Linked DNA regions of Homo sapiens: regions 1, 2, 3, 4, 6 and 7 are each linked to region 5. The links are contacts of gene promoters, found by promoter capture Hi-C in blood cells and fetal thymus (Javierre and others, 2016). All regions are on one chromosome and are shown on one strand. Each heading gives the region's core, a stretch centred on a gene start or on the middle of the fragment in contact. The rest is flanking DNA. Distances are from core to core; before and after follow the strand shown.

Region 1 (2,700 bases), core at 111-2,610, 290 kb before region 5:
GATAAAACAACCAGAAATCCCTGTGGAGGAGTGGGGAATACCCTAAAACTAAGCATATGTGCTTCATATTTTCCCCTTTCCTCTCACCAAAAAATAAGGGCCAAGAGTTTGTTTTTGGAACATCCTGATACTTCTTTTTTACAAAATTCAATTATACTTTGTAATTTCCCAAATGAATGGTTCATAAAAAAGTGAGATGATCCTGTAATAGCTTCTGCCATTAACTAAAGTACTAGTATTCCCTTTTTCCCAATAAAGACTCAGACATTTCCTAAAAAATCATTTCCCAGAATATTTATTTTGAGTCATGTTTCCGTATTAGTGTTCTCAAATTAGTGCACAGCCATTCCAGGGCAATAGCTCCCACCTGTAAGCCCTGGACGAGTGTGTCCGACAGCACGGGGAGCTGTTCCACACCTGTGTCCCACTAGCCTGCCTTCACTTCCTTCCCTGAGAGACTTCATGAGCAACAGGTAACTGTGGACCACAGCAGCCATCAAAGAGTCCCACTGGGAGATGTGGGCCCTTCACCCACGACCACGGGAAAGCTGGAGACAATCATTGTCTACATTGTTTCCTCCTCATTTAGTTGGCCGTTTTGAGAAGAAAAGCAATTGAATACTGAAGGTCTCACTGGTTTCATCATAAATCTAGGGCTTTACTTTTGAGCAAAATGAAAAGTAGATGAATAGGACATCAAGAGAGCCCTGCTTGGTGCGCATTTGAACCTGAAACATAACACGGGGGGCTGCCCCTCTATGATGTGTTAAGACTGCAACACGGGCACTTCCTGGTGGTACCACATATTCAAGTTCTTTTATTATGGGTCCCTCCAACTTTTTGTACCTATTAGCACTACTGCTTTTAAATGAAAATGACTCAAAGAGCCTGTGGAGTATTTGCTTAGGAGCAAAAGTGCAATTATTTGGGATACCTTCTCATAAAGGAGGCAAAATCATATTTTAATATTTTGTGCAACTAGAGGATTAAGTAGTTTATATAATGATTGCATCATAAATGTTGGTCTTGCTCTTCTGGGAAGCCAGAAACAAAATGTGAATTTTCAGCATTATGTGTACACTGCCTCTCATCTACCTAAATTGCTTTTGACTCCTGGTATGAACTGATTTTTTTTCTTTTGACGTTTTGCCTTCTTGGGTGTCTCTTTCGTGATTTCTAGAATAAGCAAGAGACACTTAAGGAAAAATAAATCCTCATCTAACTACCTTTTCAGCTTCTTAGTAAGTTTCTCATTTTCCTCCTCCTCTTTCTCTCTCTCTCCCCCTGCCTTCCTTTTGAGCTAGAATTGTATGTTCAGTGGTCAGTTGACCACCATGGCAGGTCATTCGTTGGGAAGCACGTCCTTATTATTGCCCTACCAAATGCTGGCTGTCCCAAAATCACTGAGAGGCAGTGTTCCAAAATTCTTTCATTCAGTATTGGAAATACCTTTCCCATAGAAATAGTGTTGTAAATGGTGATCAGGTGCTTAAACTGATCACGGTTGACTCCCAAAGCCAATTTACTCCAGAATATAAGTGAATTATAATACTAGTTACACTGGCCTGACCTCAGAGTCCGTGGGGCTAGAGCCAAGCAGGTGCAGGAAGTGGGGATGGGGCTGAGCAGTTGGCCTGACACTCTGCATCACTTCACTCTAGACGTCACCCCTTAGCTGCCCAGAACCTTCCCAAGGCCCAGACCAGTGGCCCTTAACATGCCGCATGCTCACTCCAGAATTCCCAGCTGACTTCCTTCTTCAAGATCCTACTTCTCCCCCGTCTCCCCCAGCACCACAGAGATAAGCACTTAACATCCGTGGTGCTTATGCTTCAAGTTGAAGTTAAGTGAGTAGCAGAGGGGTATGGCTGAGAGAGGAACACATACATGGATGTACTTCACTGGAAATGTTCTAGCCCTTGGGTTGGGTAATGGTTTCCCAGGTGTTCATTCTATTGTTATACTTTATAACTTCCATATGTCATACTATTACATGGTTCAACTATTGGCGAAATCATAATTTAAAAAATAAAAAGTAGAGGAGAGAAGAGGTGAATGTGGCCAAAACCAAAATGTCATATATCATGGGAAAGGCAGATCTATTGCAAAGTGTGAACACGCAGACCTGAGGAGCCAGGGCTGCCAACTGTTTTAAATACCAAAATCACCTGTAGTATTACAAAATTCTGTGGACCATTCCATGTAATAATAGTTATCTTTTTAGTTTTCATTGAGAAAATAGGTATGGAAATAAAGCTATATACTTTTAGATGTTATGGATTGTAACATATACCTATGTTTGATAAACAATAAGTATATAGATGAAATTTGTGGGCATTGATAGTATTTATTATTATTATTATTTTTGAGATGGACTCTTGTTCTGTTACCCAGGCTGGAGTGCAGTGGCACAATCTCAGTTCATCGCAACCTCTGCCTCCCGGGTTCAAGCAATTCTCCTGCCTCAGCCTCCCAAGTAGCTAGGATTACAGGCACCCACCACCACGCCCAGCTAATTTTTTGTATTTTTTAGTAGAGATGGGGTTTCACCATGTTGGCCAGGCTGGTCTTGAACTCCTGACCCCAAGTGATCTGCCCACCTCAGCCTCCCAAAGTGCTTGGATTACAGGTGTGAGCTACCATGCCTGACCAGTAAACATTAATAGTGTTTGAAATTAAGATAAGAAAGTAAACATTTGG
Region 2 (2,700 bases), core at 9-2,508, 360 kb before region 5:
ACACAAACAGAAGAAAATAATTCACTTAACTTTTTAATAACTATGGAGTATTACAAGATTAATGGATAATATTTAAGAAATTCAATGTTTTTGAACCTTTAAGCTAATATTTATTTTTGCTATTGAAATAACATTGTAATGAATACTTGCATCTACATCTTTGAACATATTCCAGAATTTATTGGAGGGGGATTCAACGAATGAGTCATTAAAACCATGATGTACTCGTTTAGTGTTGCATGCCAGCTACCAAATCAACCTCCCAAAAGGTAGTCTGCTTTTCTCTTTCCTAACTAATGACCCTAAGTGTCCTACAAGTGGAATACTATGGTTAAAACCTCCATGGATTAGAGAAAGTAAGTCAGGTAAAATGCTTAGCACAATTCCTGGTTCGTAGAACACATACGATAACTGTTAATATTAGCAACAGTTCTAGCAGTAGTAATTATTATTTTTGTTGTTAATGATTGTAACACTTCATGATTACATTTATTGATTTTTAGACAACATCGGGTTTCATGACATAAAAATGTGAAAACATTTTGGAAACAAGTAGACAAAAAATTGATACATTACTGCTTTATCAATATTTATTTGTTTACCAACAAGGTTGAACATTTGTTCATATATTTATAGGACATAGAAACTTGATGACTGTGACTTCCTATTTCTGTGACATCTGTTACCACAGTAACTAATGCAGTCAGTGGGAATATGTGAATTTCATGAGCCTGGCCCTCCAGCTTGCCAGTCGTGAGAGCCAGAGGGAATGGAGCAGCCTGAGGCTGTATCACCTGATGGCTGGATGCATCTGGCTGCTTATTCAGCTGTGGCTCCTTTATTTGGGACAGCTGTGAACGCGGCTCCAGGAGTTGCCTTCATGAAATGAAGCATATGATGACAACTGGAAGAAGAGGACGAGTACATATTGCTAAAGGTTTAATGGGGATAGTAATGGCCAAGTGGAAAAAAACCTGTGGGTGGGGATGAATTGGTGCTGACTGGTCATGCCACGAGGTCTGTATTTCAGGAAACCACTAATTGGGGCAGCTCCTCTGGAGAGGACTGGGCCTGAGTCAGATCTGCCCTGTGGATTGCAAGTCCTCTGTGAAGTTTGTGCTCTCAGGTGCATCAGAAGCAGACCCTCTCCACAGTGCTGGCTCCTCCTGATGGTAGAAAGCTTAGGCTTGTGTATCATGATGGTTTTTTGTCTTCCTCGATGGACATTTATTGAGTTTGGATAGTATGCTGTGGACATTAAGAGTATATAGATTCTGGAGTTAGGCTTCCTGGGTTCGAATCCTGGCTGTATTTCTTATTACCTGTGTAAGCTTGGGCAACCATTTAAGCTGTTTGTGCCTTGATCTTTTTTACTTCTAACACGGATGTGGTAATAATAATAATAATAATTCCCACACAGGGAGTTGAACAATGAGAACACATGGACACAGGGAGGGGAACATTGCACACCAGGGCCTGTCGGGGGGTGGGGTGGGGAGCTAGGGGAGGGACAGCATTAGGAGAAATACCCAATGTAGATGACCGGTTCATGGGTGCAGCAAACCACCATGGCACGTGTATACCTATGTAATAAACCTGCACATTCTGTACATGTGTTCCAGAACTTAAAGTATATTAATAAAAAAACTCCCACATAAGGTTTATATAGATTATTTGAGTTTATATATTTTATCTAATGTATAATACACATTTTCTACACCTGAAATTAGGATGTGTTTTACAATGGGCATTTTACAATTATAACTAACAGCAGTTTTACTTTCTTTTCGGTATGTAAATACTGATGCATCTTAGAATCAGTGGTGTTCTTGTATATGAAGAAATAGGGCATTTGTAAACATTAAAACATGGTTTGGCAATATAAAATTCTATTTTAGTGTTATCATTTGTTTGGTTTTGTGACTGAAACCAGATCCTAATGTCCCCATTAAACCAATAAGGCATATTTATTGCAAGCCGCTTATCCTTGTATTGTGAGAGCTCTTAACACAAAACTTCAGTAAGTCAGAACGTAGATCCACAGAGTGACGTGATTTTTCAGTTCTTTGGGGATTCAGGAATACATTATGTGACTTTCAAGATGAACTTTTCCGGTCACATTCATCTCTTGACCTACCAGGTCTCTGGTCTCTATTTTCTTTTAATGAACACTGGGATAACCCATTCCAAATTCCGGCCTCTCCTCACTTCCAGTGGTGATTCTTTTCCATTTCAGTCAGCTAATACTATCTGCATCTACATTCTGGCTCTTATATTTACTTAACACAGTTTTAGTTTTTTGTTTGTTTATTTTTGAGACGGAGTCTTGCTCTGTCGCCCAGGCTGGAGTGCAGTGGTGCAATCTCAGCTGGCTGCAAGCTTTGCCTCCCGGGTTCACGCCATTCTCCTGCCTCGGCCTCCCGAGTAGCTGGGACTACAGGTACCCGCCACCACGCCCAGCTATTTTTTTTGTATTTTTAGTAGAGACGGGGTTTCACCCTGTTAGCCAGGATGGTCTTGATCTCTTGACCTCATGATCTGCCTGCCTCGGTCTCCGAAAGTGCTGGGATTACAGGCGTGAGCCACCGCACCTGGCCTTTGAAAAGATAAATTATAACATTCCTGTTTCTACCTACCAACTTCTATCATTCTGGCTTTTTCCCACAGTTCTCCCAAACCACAGATCCCTTCTTCCTCAGG
Region 3 (2,890 bases), core at 312-2,811, 470 kb before region 5:
AAATGGGGAGTGGATCTGGAGGAGCCAATGGGAGTCTGGATGAGGGGGATGAATTATGCCATAAAGAACAGGAAAATACTGTTGCTTCTAACCCTCTTTGAGGGAGTTACTTCGGTAGAATGACGTCTATGAGTAGATTATAAGAGGCTGAAGGTAGGTGATAAGGAAGTGGAAGTAGTGGCTACAGTTTTTTCCCTCCGATTTATTAGTGAATGGATGTGAAAGATGGGATGGAATTTTAAATGAGCAACAGGGGAAAGAAGAATGTGTGTTTATGTGGTATATGGGTATATGTTTTGTTATAGAACAGTGGTAATCTTAATACTTAAATGATTATTACAGTGTTTTATTTCTTTCTCATGTGACCTTTCTCCTCTAAATTTGATTAGGTTGACCATCTTTTTATTGTTAAAAGTTCATACAAAGAGAAAGTGAATTAGAAGTCCTGGTAATATGATTTTTAGTCCATGGATTCAGAAACAATATTTTTTTTTTCAAAAAACAACACACAAAGCTCTTAAAATTTAACAGTGTTTGAGATCCCATTGTGCCTGCTTGCTTTTTGTGTAAAGCATAAAGAGAATTTTAAAGAGTGCCTTTTCCAATGATCTCAAATAAGAATAGCTCATTGGCATGTGAAATACGAAATAAATGTTCTACTAATGAACAATTTGTATTTTAAGGTCAGTTTCTGTATAAAATAAATGAGTATTTTTCTCATTTGTTTTGCTTTTTAAAGGGGAATGTGATTTAAAGGCCAGGACCATGGCCAGAATCTGATGTTTTAAAATCTCAAGCCAGCTCTATGCCTGTGCATTTTTCCCCAGATTAAGATTGAATTATGCTTTGAGGATAACACCTTCCACTGGATTGCTTTTCACTTGTCTCTATTTTTGGATTCAGAGTACAAGATATAAAGCAAGGGTGGCAGTCTGTGGCCTTTGGCTATATGCACAGCCTTCCGAAATAATTCCAAAGATGTGTAGAAATAGCAGAATAACACCATGATTAAAAGTAACAGCCACTGATAAATGTAAAAGAGAAAACTATTTTTAAAATAAATAGATATTAAATTTTAGAGAATAATTCATTGGATATATTTGTTAACTCAACACTCTGCCTCATGTCATTATTGGTTGGGACATGAGAAAAAGACAACCTTTTCGGGTTGTAATTGGATTACAAGTATTATATCAAACTGATAAAGCAGAGTACTGAATATTGAAAGCGTATGTTTTGTTTTATTTCTTTTTTTTTTTTTTTTTGAGACGGAGTCTCGCTCTTGTTTCCCAGGCTAGAGTACAGTGGCGTGATCTTGGCTCACTGCAACCTCCGCCTCCCAGGTTCAAGGAATTCTCCTTCCTCAGCCTCCCAGCTAGCTGGGATTACAGGTGTGCATCTGGCTAGTTTTTGTATTTTTAGTAGGGATGGGATTTCACCACGTTGGCCAGGCTCGTCTTGAACTCCTGACCTCGTGATCTGCCCGCCTCGACCTTCCAAAGTTCTGGGATTACAGGGGTGAGCCACGGCCTGTTTTGTTTTATTTCTTAGGGAATCCTGAGAAAGCACTTTTTGAAAACAGCAGATACCACTGCGGCCCCACCCCCTTCCTCTTGATAGCTGTGAGCAGATAAATGACTGTGGTGCCGATCTCACTGTATTTGCTTTCTGATCACTTACAGGGATAGTGACTTCTGTTAGATAATTTTGAAATTGGAATCAGACCATATCTAATGTATCTTTGTGGCCCCTGGGCTGTGATATTAGGTCATACCATCCCCTTGGAGTTCCTCTGTGTGCCCCGGCAGCTCAGCCTCCTATCATGGCATGTTCTGGAGTTTCTTCCCTCTCATAGAAGGTTCTAGGAATTTTTTTTTCACAGTCATGGATTGTTCCAGTACATTGAAACAAGGCTCAGAGCCTTATAGGAAAGAACTTGAAATCAGGTCAGAATTGGAATTCAGAGATGTATGGGATACAGACGGATTTGAGGGGTCCTGGAACGATGTTGGATAATAGGGAGGAACAACAAACTACTGAAGGAAAAGTACCAAGAGAGAACACTTCTGGGCCAGAATGTCTTGGACAAACATTTCCTCATCCTCCTGGGAGGGCCCCTACACTTGAGGAAGAAGGAGCTTTGGCAAAAAGAAATGAAAGAACTTTATCATCAGAAGCCCAACAGTTTTGCAGTATTGAAGAGCTGTTCAAGAGAGGTAGGGACTTCCTCTCTTGAGGACTGGGTTTCACGCTAAGCAAGTGAGTGAGGACTTCAAACGCTGAGATTCAGATTTTTGTATTAGTAATTCATGGTATAGTCCCAGTTACTCGGGAGGCTGAAGCCCGAGAATCTCTTGATCCCGGGAGAAGTATGTTACAGTGAGCCGAGATTGCACCACTGAACTCCAGCCTGGGTGACAAAGAGAGACTCCATTTCAAAAAAAAAAAAAAAATTCATGGTAATACGGTTTTATTCACAATAAAGTCACAAATCAGTTCATTCAGATTTCACGTATTTTTTCTAAAACGTTCAAGTCTTTAGTTTCAGTTTTGTGTTTAGAGGGAGAACTCAGAAGTGCTCCTGTGACTGAGTAAAGCTGTTGGTTTCCAGGTGAGCCCAGAGGAATTGTGGAGAGTAAATAAGGTGTGCAGCTTGGGCCTCAGCTATGTTCTCCCTAGGATTCAGACTTGTCTGGGCATGTCTGGATAATTTGACAGTCATGCCCGTCCAGAGTCTTCTGCTTGAGGGCTGGGATGATCATCACAGGACAAAGCTCATCTTAAGGAAAGCAAGAATTTGAGCCACATCCGAGGGTAGCGGCTACCACGGGGAGGGACAACACTGAAAATAGCATGACGTATGTTCTCCAGATTTTCTGTTGCGCCAGCC
Region 4 (2,700 bases), core at 13-2,512, 320 kb before region 5:
TTCCGCTATTTCCCTACACTTTCCCTCCAGCATGCTTTTATCTTTCACTTGGATTTCTCACAATCATCATTTTACCTTTGCCAATTCTTTGTGCCCTGCAAGGGTTCCTCATCATACATGAAACCATCTCTAATTCCCTAAGGCTTCCTCCTCGGAAATTTTGAATTGACTTAGGCACTTAGCAGACTAGTTCTCACATTATAATTATGAAAGCAGAGGTACCTCCACCTACCTTCCATCCCCAGTGTCATGTACATGACGGACATAAACTTTCACTAAACAACAAACAGTTGAATCTGCCATCACAGTAATGCATTAGTCTATAAATTAATCACTGGTTGGTCTTCCTTTCTTCCCCTATAGTGGAAACTGGATGTAAACCAAAGTGATTTCACAGGTAATATTTTTCAAACTCAGAGACAAAGGAAAACTGTAGTGGAAAAACTGTGTTTCCAGAAGGTTTTTTAAAAGATATTTTTGACAGTTTATGACTTTCTGCTGGGAGAATGACATTTACTGTTTCTGACTGTCTTAAATGTGCATTTATCAGATGTTGTGCGTTTAGACAACATTTGCATGATGATTTGCGTTAGCTTAAGTGGAAGCAACATAGACTTACTTGAATTTGTGATATTTTGGAAACCTGTTCATTTTATAGATGGGGAGCTAAAGGGTAAAAGAGTTGGTCTTAGAATCTAGCTTAATGGTTCTCAACTTTCTCAATACATTAAAGGGAGGTGACATGATCACAACAACAACGGGGTTTATTGTAGCCAAGGAAGTTGGCCACCCTGTAAGATTCACCGTCTGGTTACTTCTAGTTAGCAACAAGAGGGCTCAAGACCACGCAGGCAGGAAACTGATAGAAGCACCATGACTGAAAGTCGAGCCTCTTCCCAGTCCATTGCCCCATCATTTATGCCATGTGGAAATTGCTCTGCCAAAGATAAAGTGTTGACTACAGTCTAAGTGATGGGCAGAAAAACCATCACTCAACTCATAATGGTGAGTTGTACTGAGAATATGCTGTCTTAGGTTTAAAGTAGCATATTTAAGAGCAGAATCTTCAGATGACACAAACTCAAACACGCTTCTGTTACGAATGTATAAATCAGTTGGAGGAAAGTAAGGCCACCTCTTTCAAATACTTTGCTCAATTTCAAATTTATTGTTTTTTAAGATTAAAAGGTTGTAAAATACTTCCTCTTCCCCAACGCTTTATCTCTGCAAGGTTAAGAATTGTATTGAGGGTTTACAAATAGGAGCTTGGTAGATTATTTTCTAATTCTCAGATGATTTTTTTCTGATTTGTGAGCTATGGGTCAGTGTCCAGATTGACTATGTCCTACTGTGACCTAGAATCAAACATTGGAGTCCAACAGCATCACTCACTCCCTGCTTATTAGCAACCTAATTACCTAAAAAAAGAAAAAAAAAAAAAAAAAAAAACTGGAGAGACAGGCTGCCAGCTGTCAGGAATACCTTTTAACATTTTTTTCTCCTAAACCTGCAACGAGGCACTACCCAAAGCAAAGAACTTTAAAACACCAGTACTGAGAAACTGTGACTGTTGCTAGAGGATTTTGCATAGCAAACCCAAAAAACCATCTTTTGAAACTAAATTATACTCAACGACAGAAAGACATGTTTCCCCTTTTATGAGCTCCAAGTTTTAGTACTGGCCTGTTAAGTGTTTCTTCATAGGTAAATATTCGGATTTAATTCTATGCTTTTATTCTTACCTGTGTTACACTGATGTGAAAATCTGAAAAATACATGAGACAAATATAAAAAAGTGATTCAGAAGAAAGTAGGCATTTGTTTTTATACTTGGCAACTGCAGTTGAGAAGGGGGTGTATTTTATCAAAGTAAATTTCAACTGAGAAGAATGATCTTCATGCCAATCTTTATAAAAATCAAAGTTTTTTTCTTTCAAACACCTCAGTCCTCCTAATCAGTTTCATATGTTGTGTTAGTGTTATGTTCAAGGACAGGCAGTCAGAAAGCCTTCTGCTCTGATGTGCAGTCGGGGGAAAGGTGATGGTCTAACGTTGAAATTCCTAGTGATCTAAATATTTAGAGTGTGAAGTAGTTTGTAATTATTCGGAGTACATGACTGGCATGGATACTTGAGCCAGTTCATTTTTTCATAAAGGGTACATGGCACCAAACAAGCATGTCATCTCTTGTAACTGACAAATACATTCCACAAAACAGCAACATGTCAATGGTATGAAACGCTACAGCGGTCATGTGGTTTCATGTGGATGTTATACAGCTGACCTTGTATCATTAACCTTTATGGTTAGGTATTAACCTTTGAAACACTTAAGAAAAAATGATGTATGAGTTTTAAGGTTATCCTGTCTCTGCCTTTTCACATTATTAATATGGGCAGCTAATAACATTTAAAATAGAAAAATTGCCTGGGAGAAAAAAATGTAGCCATCTATAACCCTCAGTCAAACTAAAATTGAAGTGACATTTCAAGTTTGAATAGGATAGTTAAATGTTTATTTTGAAAATATTTCATAAATTATAGTCCATGTTTGATCAGTTAGGAAATAAGTCAGATTTAAATTCATACCTTCCAATTACTAGAGAAAACCTGAAATACGTAATTCTTATAACAATTATTCTTTCAAAAAGCACAAATTATGGAGATGAATATCAATCAAAAGTAATATAGTATAATCTAA
Region 5 (2,949 bases), core at 6-2,505:
CGAATTAACAGAGGTTTCCGATTATAGTACCATCTCACTTATCTCTTTAGAGAGAACGTGCTGTTTCATGTAGTATTCAGATCACTGAAGCATCGGTTTAAGATCAAGATTTATTTAACCATTTTAAAGGAGAATTTTCCACTATGAACATTAGGTAAATACTTTAAACAGCAGGAGAATATGACTTTGCCTGTTCTTGATAATTTGGGACTATTACTGGGAATATCAATGACTATACAGTGTTGTAACAGTGTATTCTCAGAGTATTAAAGGGCATTCGGATATAAAACTATATTAAATGGGCCGGGTGCGGTGGCTCACACCTATAATGCCAGCACTTTGGGAGGCAGAGGCGGGTGGATCACAAGGTTAGGAGTTCAAGACCAGCCTGGCCAAGATGGTGAAACCCCATTTCTACTAAAAATACAATTACAGGCAGGCGCCTGTAATCCCAACTACTCAGGAGGCTGAGGCAGGAGAATCACTTGAACTTGGGGAGTAGAGGTTGCAGTGAACCGAGATCATGCCACTGCACTCCAGCCTGGGCGGCAAAGTGAGACTCCGTCTCAAAACAAACAAACAAACAAACCTATATTAAATGGTCCCAGATGCAATAGTTTTTAATGTTCTTTGTCACCTCACTCCTTCTAAGTTATTAATTCTAGTCATCCCAAATCCTTTCCATAATGAAATACAATAAATTGAGAGTGCGCCTAGGCCCTGCAAGTCTCTTCTAATTTTACCCTCCCCCGCACAACACACACACACACACACACACACACACACACACACGGGGATCTTATCCAAATGTGGATTCTGATTCAAGGTGAAGGGTGGGGCCTGAGATTCTGCATTCCTCACAAGCTCCCAGATAGTGCAGATGCTGCTGGTCCATGAGCCACATTTTCAGTAATAAGGGGCTAGAAAATGAGAGAGCCAGGCTTATTAAAATTATATATAAAATGAGATAAAATTAGCTCCGAGAGAGTGCCTAGGTGATCTTGCTTTATGGAATTTGTGACATCGGTGTGGCTGCTAAGAACCTTCTTAAAAGTCTGCAGTTTCAGATAAAGGAGCTGTCACTGCCGTTGTAGTCCTTTTACTTAAAGTTTTACTCTACAGAGGCACTTGCTCACACTTTGCAAGGAAAGGATCCTGCTGCCCCATTTTTTACTTACGCTAGTTCTGTGGGAATTAGAGGTAAACACCTCCCTTGAACGTGAGTTCTCATAGTATAAGCGATGTCCGTTGGAGAGCCTGATGATGTCCCACCACGATGCAACGGCTCTCCTGGCTGGGGCTAGTGGAAGCAGTTTTGATGGAAGTTAAGGTTGGTCAGAAATTAAGAACATAAATGGGACCTGCGTTACTTCGTCACTCTGTCTCTTTTTTTTTTTTTTTTTTTTGTGATGTTATGGTTTCAACAGTTTCAAAGTGCTTTCATCCTTATTAAAAACGTCCTAGTGAGGTCAGTAGGACAAGAATCACTATTCATCATTCTAAGTGAGAAAGTGAGACCTGGGGAAAGGTTTCTTGCCTAAAGCCACTCAGCAAGTTGGTGCTATTTTGGATTCCAGCCCTGTGTTCACTCTACAGTGGCACTGAGAGAGCCCCCACGAGGCCTTCTGCGTCCATTCATACCCTTTCCAGTGCGTTTCCGTCTTCCAAAGATGAGCTGGAGCTCCACAGCCACAGTTAGTAGAATGACCTGTCGGGGTACCTGGGGTCTCTCATAGTTTCCAGGTCACTCAGGGGATCTCCGGTGTCAGTGACTACTGCAGAGCCAGGCCCCGGCAAAATGGCTCTGGGATGGGACGCCACCTGTGGGCCTCGCCACCATGGTTCCTTCGCACCTGAGTGCCCACCTCACGCTGGAGGTTTGGAACATCCGGACAACCCCTGCCCTCCAGACTCTGCCACACAACTTGGGAACACCCTGACAAGCCCGCAGCCAGCATCGTCCCATTCGCACCCCTCACGCTGCCTGCAGCCCTGGGGATTCATGCAATTGGGCACTGGCGCTGGGCAATAAAGAATTGTGGTGGGGCAGCCTGGTGCCAGGGAGCCAGTCGCCCACCTCGTAAAAAGGGAGTTCTGTGAGGAGCGTCTGGCAGGGAGCGGGCACAGGCCCCTGAATACCAGCCATTCAGCTGAAGGGAACGGGTCCAGCAGTTTTCACTTATGTTACCACAAACAGCAGATGCTAAAAATACACTGCGGTCTCGATACATCATTCAGAAAGCGACGGACCAGTTTTCCTTTTGTCAGCGGTCTGGGAGCCTGAAGCAGTCGGATGGGGCATTCCAGACACCGCCTGGCCTCCTTTGGTTTCCCCTCAGACTCTGACAGAGCTGAAGGTGCCAGCGCGAGAGCGCCCGAGGAGACCAGGAGAGAAGGTGGAGAGGCGGCAAGGCTCCCCAGGCTAAGGGAAGGCAAAGCGGAGTGGGGCGAGGAAGGGGCGGGGTGGCTCCTTCTGGAGGCCACAGAACAGCCTGGGACTCCCTGAGGCGACACCGGCCGCAGGCACCAGGCACTGGGGGCTAAGAGAAACCCCGAGACCCAGAAATCTCCTTCCTAAGGTCCAACTTGCCCCAAAAGTTGTTTTTTCTTTTTTTTTTTTCACTACTTGAGGTAAACACATACACAATTTTACAAAAAGCGCCATCACTTGTCCACAATCAGAGGACTCATTCGTCAGCTTCTATACAATCTGCGCTTGGTTTCTCCTTCTCAGTAAGCACTCAGGCAGTTCCACCACACGCTATTGTCTCCACAGGAAAGAAGAAGACAGAGGCAAAGAGAAAGAGCAGGAGAGGGAGAAACAGATTGGCCCCTAGGAATGGGGAAAGGAGGCTGAAAGAAATGGCCAACATGAGGGTGGAACTTCATATTTTAGATGTCTGACTCCCAGTTTCTGCTTCCTCCATCCCAAGTAACTGAAGTGAGATA
Region 6 (2,855 bases), core at 215-2,714, 450 kb before region 5:
GACTGTTGCCCATCCATGAGGGCCTGGTGCCGTACCTGCCTCACAGTGGTGTTTCCTTGATCTTTCCACCCATCTTCCTTCTCTGAAGTCTAGGAAAACTCTCTGTCTTTAGGTGGTGCTTAATAACACACCATGTCTCTAATGAGGATGTATGCTCCTCATGACCGGGGATAAACTCATTTAGTCAGCAGCTGTGGCAGCCACAGCTGCAAAAGCGTAACATTTACACAGTGCTTTATCACCTGCAAAGCCCTTTCATCCACCTTATCTGTTTTTCACAACTGCACTGTGAGTTTGGTATTACTGTTATCTCATGTGTAGATTTAGAAGCCACTTTCCTAACTTAGTGACTTACTGCACAAAAAAGCCTTCAACCGTGAATTGTTAGAGATGGTTTTTAGAAAGAAATTTGGCACTTTTCAATAGGCTATAGCCAATCAGTCATGCTTGAGAAGTTAAACATTTAGAGATTTAGTATTACTGATGAAGCACATTCTTGATGAACTACATGAAAATAGGAAGGGCTCAGTCACTAAAACAGTGGGAGTTTTTACCAAAATTTCACCATACAAAGTTGGCCATTTAACAGACTTCATTCTTAATTTTTTTTTTTTTTTGAGACACCTGACTAATTTTTGTATTTTAGTAGAGACGAGGTTTCACCATGTTGACCAGGCTAGTCTTGAATTCCTGACCTCAAGTGATCTGCCCGCCTTGGCCTTCCGAAGTGCTGGGATTACAGGTGTGAGACACCATGCCCCACCTATTCTGAATTTTTTTAAGCTGTAATTTAGATATCCAAATTTGAGAAGGGTTCATTTGAAGACCAGACATAACTAATTTGTATAACCCCATTAGATATTTCCTTTAAATAATCTTCTACACATATTGTCTTAGTGCACTGGTACATCTAGGAAGAGTCTACCTTTCTTCAACTAGAACTAACCTTCAAGACTGAATTTTAAAAGGAAACTATTTTCCTAAATGATGATTGCTAACATTTCTTGACGGCTTACTATGCATCAGAAGCTTTCTATGTATTATCTCTAAACTTTACAAGAGTCTTTGAGAGAGGTTATTTCCTCCATTTTATGGAAGACAAAAATTAGGTGACCTTCTTAAGCTGAGTAAGTGATTCACAGTAAGTGATGGATCAGGGATTCAAACTCTGCATTCTACCGCATCATTTGGCCTCCCTAGATGTAATGTTCTAAGGCATTATGTTATTTCACAGAGAGGGGCTGGTGGAAAAACTCAGTCGCTTTAAATTGTTTAAGCATTCCATGATAGAGTAGACATGGATGCGAGAAGGGATTTTATACATTCCAGGAATATAACTTCATTTGAATTGCCTCTGATTTCAAAGAAATCAAAACCTCAGTGGAGGGGAGTGGCACATAGTATCTTTAACATTTGCCCTTGTGCCAAACAAGGCTCTATGATTTGTTTCCCGTTCCAAATTAAAAAAAAAAATGCAGAAAAATGAAAAGCATTTTTTTCATCTAGTATTGAATTGATCCCATGCAAAAAAGAAAACAAAATCCAAAATTAAGGAGCACAAAGGAGTGCTATTTAGTGTCTGATTTGTGAGATTTCCTCCCTCTCCTTCCAGACTTTGTGGATCAGTTTCTGAAAATGAAAGGAATAATCTCAGATATTTTTATTGAAAAGAACACAGATTATTAGATACCAAATACATTCTAGAAGATTAATGCAATATTTGTATATGCTGATGGTGAAGACCAAGGGCTTTCCTACTCCGATGACTCAACCCTGGCTACACATTAGGATCACTTTGGGAGAGCTTTAAAGCAATCCCAATGCTCAGTCCCAAGCAGTAATTTAAGAAGGTCATGCAGCTGCCGCCTCTGCTGAATGGCAGGGCCATGGGAAGCTTTACTGATAAAGGCACAAAATGGCAAGGGGGGTGAAATGTACAGAGGGTCCTACTCATTGATCAGAAGTAGCCCGGAGAGGCTATAACAGCACAGCAAGACGCTGACCAGACCCCCTTCTCACTTTTATGTCTCAGAACTTTTCTACAGTGAATGTCAATGTGTTTTTTTCCTCCACATAACATCTGTTTCCTTTTTGTCTTTAACATCACCTCACTTTTCTTTTGAAAAGCCACGTCTCACCCTTTGCACTCTGCATGGTTAGGATGAAGCTGATCTATTGGATCTAGAGATGATCCTCAACCCAGGACTGAATGATAATTCACGTCACCTGGTCACTGTGATCTGTTTATGGACGGGCACATTTTCTAAGTTATACTCTAGAGAGTAGTTCCCCAGTCCTTTGCTGGAATAGTTGGGACACTGTCTTAGTAGCTATGGTTACTGAGCTGGAAGAATCTAATTGTGAAGTTGTAATGATTATCTTTGATACCATGAGGGGAGAACAGAATCGAGAGATGTAGAGAGATTCCTTATATCATTTGAGCTCCATGCCTGTAATCCTGGACTTTTTGGTTATATGAACAAATTCTATTCTGCCTAAGCCAGTTTAGTTGGATTTCTGCCACTTGTAATACAAGAAGTTCTAACTAAGAAACTTTACGTAGTGGAGCCAAAAGGCCAAATGGAGGAAGCAATGTGCTGATGTTGGAGTGAGGAATTCATGGAAGGGACGTTCATGTCTTGGAAAACTTAATCTGTGTTAAAACATGCATTCTATAAAATAGCTAGCTGTTTGATCAACAACCCTCACTATATAACCTGTACCCCCATACCATATGTTAGACTTAATTTTTCCTCAATATTCTTGGTTTTAGGGTGAAATAGATTCTAGGCCTTGTATTTATCTTTTGAGGACATATTTATTACTTAATATGCTATGATACTACTTTGGGGAAC
Region 7 (2,889 bases), core at 341-2,840, 340 kb before region 5:
CGATATGATAGGGTCTACCTTTTCAATTTGATGTGAGGATGGCAGGAGTTAATCTGTGTAAAGTGCTTAGAACTATTCCTGAAAAATAACCCTCAATAATGTTATCCGTACCCATATGTAATTAGGTAAACTCATTTAGTAAGTGATGGACTTCAGCAGTGGTTACTGCATGCCTTCTGTGTTTGTGGAATCATCTGTAATTCTGCTCTTCACAAATTGGAGGGCACAAACTTTGTAATGACACCTGGCAGGAAGGATGTTTTGTTATTGTGAACTGATCAAAAAGGAAGGTTTGTGCAACATAAAGGGAAGGAACCAATTAGCTAAATACTAGACTAAGAAAGCTTTATTTGTACAGAGAAAGTTCTTTCATTTTTTTTTCCTCCAAAATGTTGAATCCTGCCAGTTAGGAGCCTTACTCCTTTCTCTGTCTTTCATGGACTACATTATTGTTTTCAAAAAGACGTTCTTTAGACTTGTTTCTTGTGGAATAGATTATTTAAATTGATTTATTAACTTCCATTAGGGGCTAATGTGACTTCAAATGAGTCTGCCCTTTTCAACCCTGATGTAGAATTCCTGTTCCTCCTTTTCACACACTTATAAGGTCCCAGAGCTACTGAATACCAATGCTAGGGTCAAGTTCTCTTTTTAACAAATACACACATCCTTGGTCTTGAGTTGACACCTCTGCCTCCCCATCCTCACACTCAGGCATCTGCAAGCCTCAAGAAGCATCTGGGGGCAGGGGGCTGCCACTAACAAGACACATTTGGAAAGCACTAACTTAGTTTTGACTCATGGACATTATTCTGTAACCTTTATATTCTCTTACTACTCTCTTGTGAACTCTCAAAGTGAGCATTCACCAATGCCAGTAGTAAAGGCATTAGCTTCCTCCTTCTACATGCTGCCCAGGGATTCTGTCATCCTTGTTGGGATGGGAGTGTGTTTCCTGCCACCCGTCACACTGGGACTCTTGGTAAAAATATTTGTTAAAGGAGGAGATGAATCATGCTTTCCTAGATGTTAGCTTTGCAGTAGTCTCCTTCATCGGTTTGTTAATGAATTAGTCATAGCGATATCTGTCACACCCATATAGGTACAATTTACACAAAATGAATCATTGCAAAATATAGTCTGTATAATTTCTATTTAGAATGTAGATGCTATTCTCAAAGGACATCAATTTCACAAGAAGCTTGGTTTAAGTAGCTTTCCTTTGACTACTTTGTAGAAGCTTGGAATTGGTTAGGGTTTGGATATTTATCATGACATGGGTTAGGACTCAACATTTACACAAGATTTAAACTTACTAAGTCACTTTCTGCTTCTTATTTTATGAATTCAGATGTTCTGTTTTGCCTATATTGATATTTGAGGAAACGAATGTAACCAGTTTTCAAAAGAGAAGTATTTTTTCTTTCATTTAATGTTAGATATGCATAAAGATAATTTCGTAAAAAATATCCAATTTAAAGAATAATTTTTCATTTAACACCCATATAACATCTCCTTGCTCAATCACAACCCAACTTGGTTCATCTTCTCCTGGAAACCACCATTCTTCTTAGTTTTGTTAATATTATTGCTTGCTAGTCTTTCTTTTTTTAAAAATAAAAGACACATTTATTCAGCTTCATGATCAGACTATTACATTTAGCAATTGATAGCATGGGTGCAGACAAACCACTGTATTAAAACCCTTGGCTGGAATGCTTTATACTTTCCACAGAACAGAAATTAAAATAACCTGTTATATAACTAATCACAAATATGGTCCTTAACTCTTTTGCCCATACACGGGAGTATTGTATAAAACATGTCTTCTTTGTAGCAGCTAGGCCCTGTGCCACCACTGTGCTTTGCTGAGTTCACAAACCTGTTGCAACCTATAGCTTCCCTGTCACTTCTCTGGCTCTACTCTCCTACTAAGCTTTGTTTCCTGGCAGTAATTAAAATCTTCTGCCAGTGCCATAGCTAGTGCTACCCCTATAGCCTCCTTGGTTTTGTGGTTTGGCAAAGTACTGGCTTCCACCATCATAGGAACCAGAGCTTTTGCCTCCAAAGTTTTTTCCCTTCATGGATCAAAAATTTGAAGACCGGTGGTTTTAATTGCCAAAATCATTGTAGCTTCCACCACCTCCAGTGTTGCTCCCATCATTACCAAATTCATTATAGCCACCCCCACTGCTACCATATCCTCCACCACCACAGCTGCCACTAAAGCCACCATGACCACTGAAGTTTTCTCCATAACCAAAGATGTCGTTCCCACCAAAACCACCTCCATGGCCACCACGAAAGTTTCCAGAACTACTATGTCCTCTTTGGCTGGATGAAGCACTAGCCATCTCTTGCTTTGACAGGGCTTTCCTACCTTCACAGTTGTGGTCATTTGCAGTGTGGTATTTCTGAACGACAGTCTTATCCACAGAGTCATGGTTGTCAAAGGTTACAAAGGCAAAGCCCCTTTTCTTGCCACTGCCTCGGTCAGTCATGATTTCAATCACTTCCATTTTTCCATACTGTTGAAAATAATCTCTTAGGTGATGTTCTTCTGTGTCTTCTTTAATGCCAGCAACAAATGTCTTTTTCACAGTTGAGTGGGCACCTGGTCTTTGAGAATCTTCTTAGACAGCTCTCTTTGGTTCCACAACTCTTCATCCACCTTGTGTGGCCTTGCATTCATGGCTGCATCTGCCTCCTCCACGGTGGCATATGAGACAAACCCAAAGCCTCTGGAATACCTGGTGTTTGGATCTCATTACCACACAGTTCTTGAGCGTTCCCCATTGCTCAAAATGATTCCTCAGGCACTTATCGGTGGTTTCAAAGCCCAACCCTCTGATGAGGAGCTTCCACAGCTGTTCAGGCCCTTTGAGGGAC

The links. The method cuts DNA at HindIII sites, captures the fragments that hold promoters and counts their contacts. A CHiCAGO score of 5 or more calls a contact.
Region 1: a fragment that was not itself captured here is called in contact with the fragment with the promoter of SCG5-AS1 in region 5 in 8 of 17 cell types (M2 macrophages, M0 macrophages, M1 macrophages and 5 more); the score reaches 21.7 in M2 macrophages.
Region 2: a contact is called between a fragment that was not itself captured here and the fragment with the promoter of SCG5-AS1 in region 5, in 4 of 17 cell types (M1 macrophages, M2 macrophages, naive B cells and 1 more). The highest score is 7.1, in M1 macrophages.
Region 3: a contact is called between a fragment that was not itself captured here and the fragment with the promoter of SCG5-AS1 in region 5, in 2 of 17 cell types (M2 macrophages and M1 macrophages). The highest score is 6.8, in M2 macrophages.
Region 4: a fragment that was not itself captured here is called in contact with the fragment with the promoter of SCG5-AS1 in region 5 in 9 of 17 cell types (M2 macrophages, megakaryocytes, naive B cells and 6 more); the score reaches 26.6 in M2 macrophages.
Region 6: a contact is called between a fragment that was not itself captured here and the fragment with the promoter of SCG5-AS1 in region 5, in 1 of 17 cell types (M2 macrophages). The highest score is 6.2, in M2 macrophages.
Region 7: a contact is called between a fragment that was not itself captured here and the fragment with the promoter of SCG5-AS1 in region 5, in 7 of 17 cell types (endothelial precursors, megakaryocytes, naive B cells and 4 more). The highest score is 10.2, in endothelial precursors.

The regions. Positions count from the first base shown.
Region 1 is chr15:32,965,067-32,967,766 of GRCh38, reverse strand. The region is part of intron 8 of FMN1 (formin 1); the gene reads left to right. Among named protein-coding and RNA genes, the nearest start is that of FMN1, 230 kb to the left of the region's middle. The HindIII fragment of the contact is 4,024 bases long and covers 1-2,700 here.
Region 2 is chr15:33,029,773-33,032,472 of GRCh38, reverse strand. The region is part of intron 6 of FMN1 (formin 1); the gene reads left to right. Among named protein-coding and RNA genes, the nearest start is that of FMN1, 160 kb to the left of the region's middle. The HindIII fragment of the contact is 151 bases long and covers 1,183-1,333 here.
Region 3 is chr15:33,145,541-33,148,430 of GRCh38, reverse strand. All of the region lies in intron 4 of FMN1 (formin 1), which reads left to right. Among named protein-coding and RNA genes, the nearest start is that of FMN1, 48 kb to the left of the region's middle. RefSeq lists an enhancer at 1,912-2,890. The HindIII fragment of the contact is 6,024 bases long and covers 1-2,890 here.
Region 4 is chr15:32,986,799-32,989,498 of GRCh38, reverse strand. The region is part of intron 7 of FMN1 (formin 1); the gene reads left to right. Among named protein-coding and RNA genes, the nearest start is that of FMN1, 210 kb to the left of the region's middle. The HindIII fragment of the contact is 3,894 bases long and covers 1-2,700 here.
Region 5 is chr15:32,671,371-32,674,319 of GRCh38, reverse strand. It overlaps SCG5-AS1 (SCG5 antisense RNA 1), which reads left to right and starts at 1,255. Exons shown (of 4, transcript NR_135505.1): 1 at 1,255-1,330. All of the region lies in intron 10 of ARHGAP11A-SCG5 (ARHGAP11A-SCG5 readthrough), which reads right to left. All of the region lies in intron 2 of SCG5 (secretogranin V), which reads right to left. The HindIII fragment of the contact is 5,358 bases long and covers 1-2,949 here.
Region 6 is chr15:33,123,467-33,126,321 of GRCh38, reverse strand. The region is part of intron 4 of FMN1 (formin 1); the gene reads left to right. Among named protein-coding and RNA genes, the nearest start is that of FMN1, 70 kb to the left of the region's middle. The HindIII fragment of the contact is 865 bases long and covers 1,032-1,896 here.
Region 7 is chr15:33,012,135-33,015,023 of GRCh38, reverse strand. The region is part of intron 6 of FMN1 (formin 1); the gene reads left to right. It also overlaps the pseudogene HNRNPA1P71. Among named protein-coding and RNA genes, the nearest start is that of FMN1, 180 kb to the left of the region's middle. The HindIII fragment of the contact is 696 bases long and covers 1,243-1,938 here.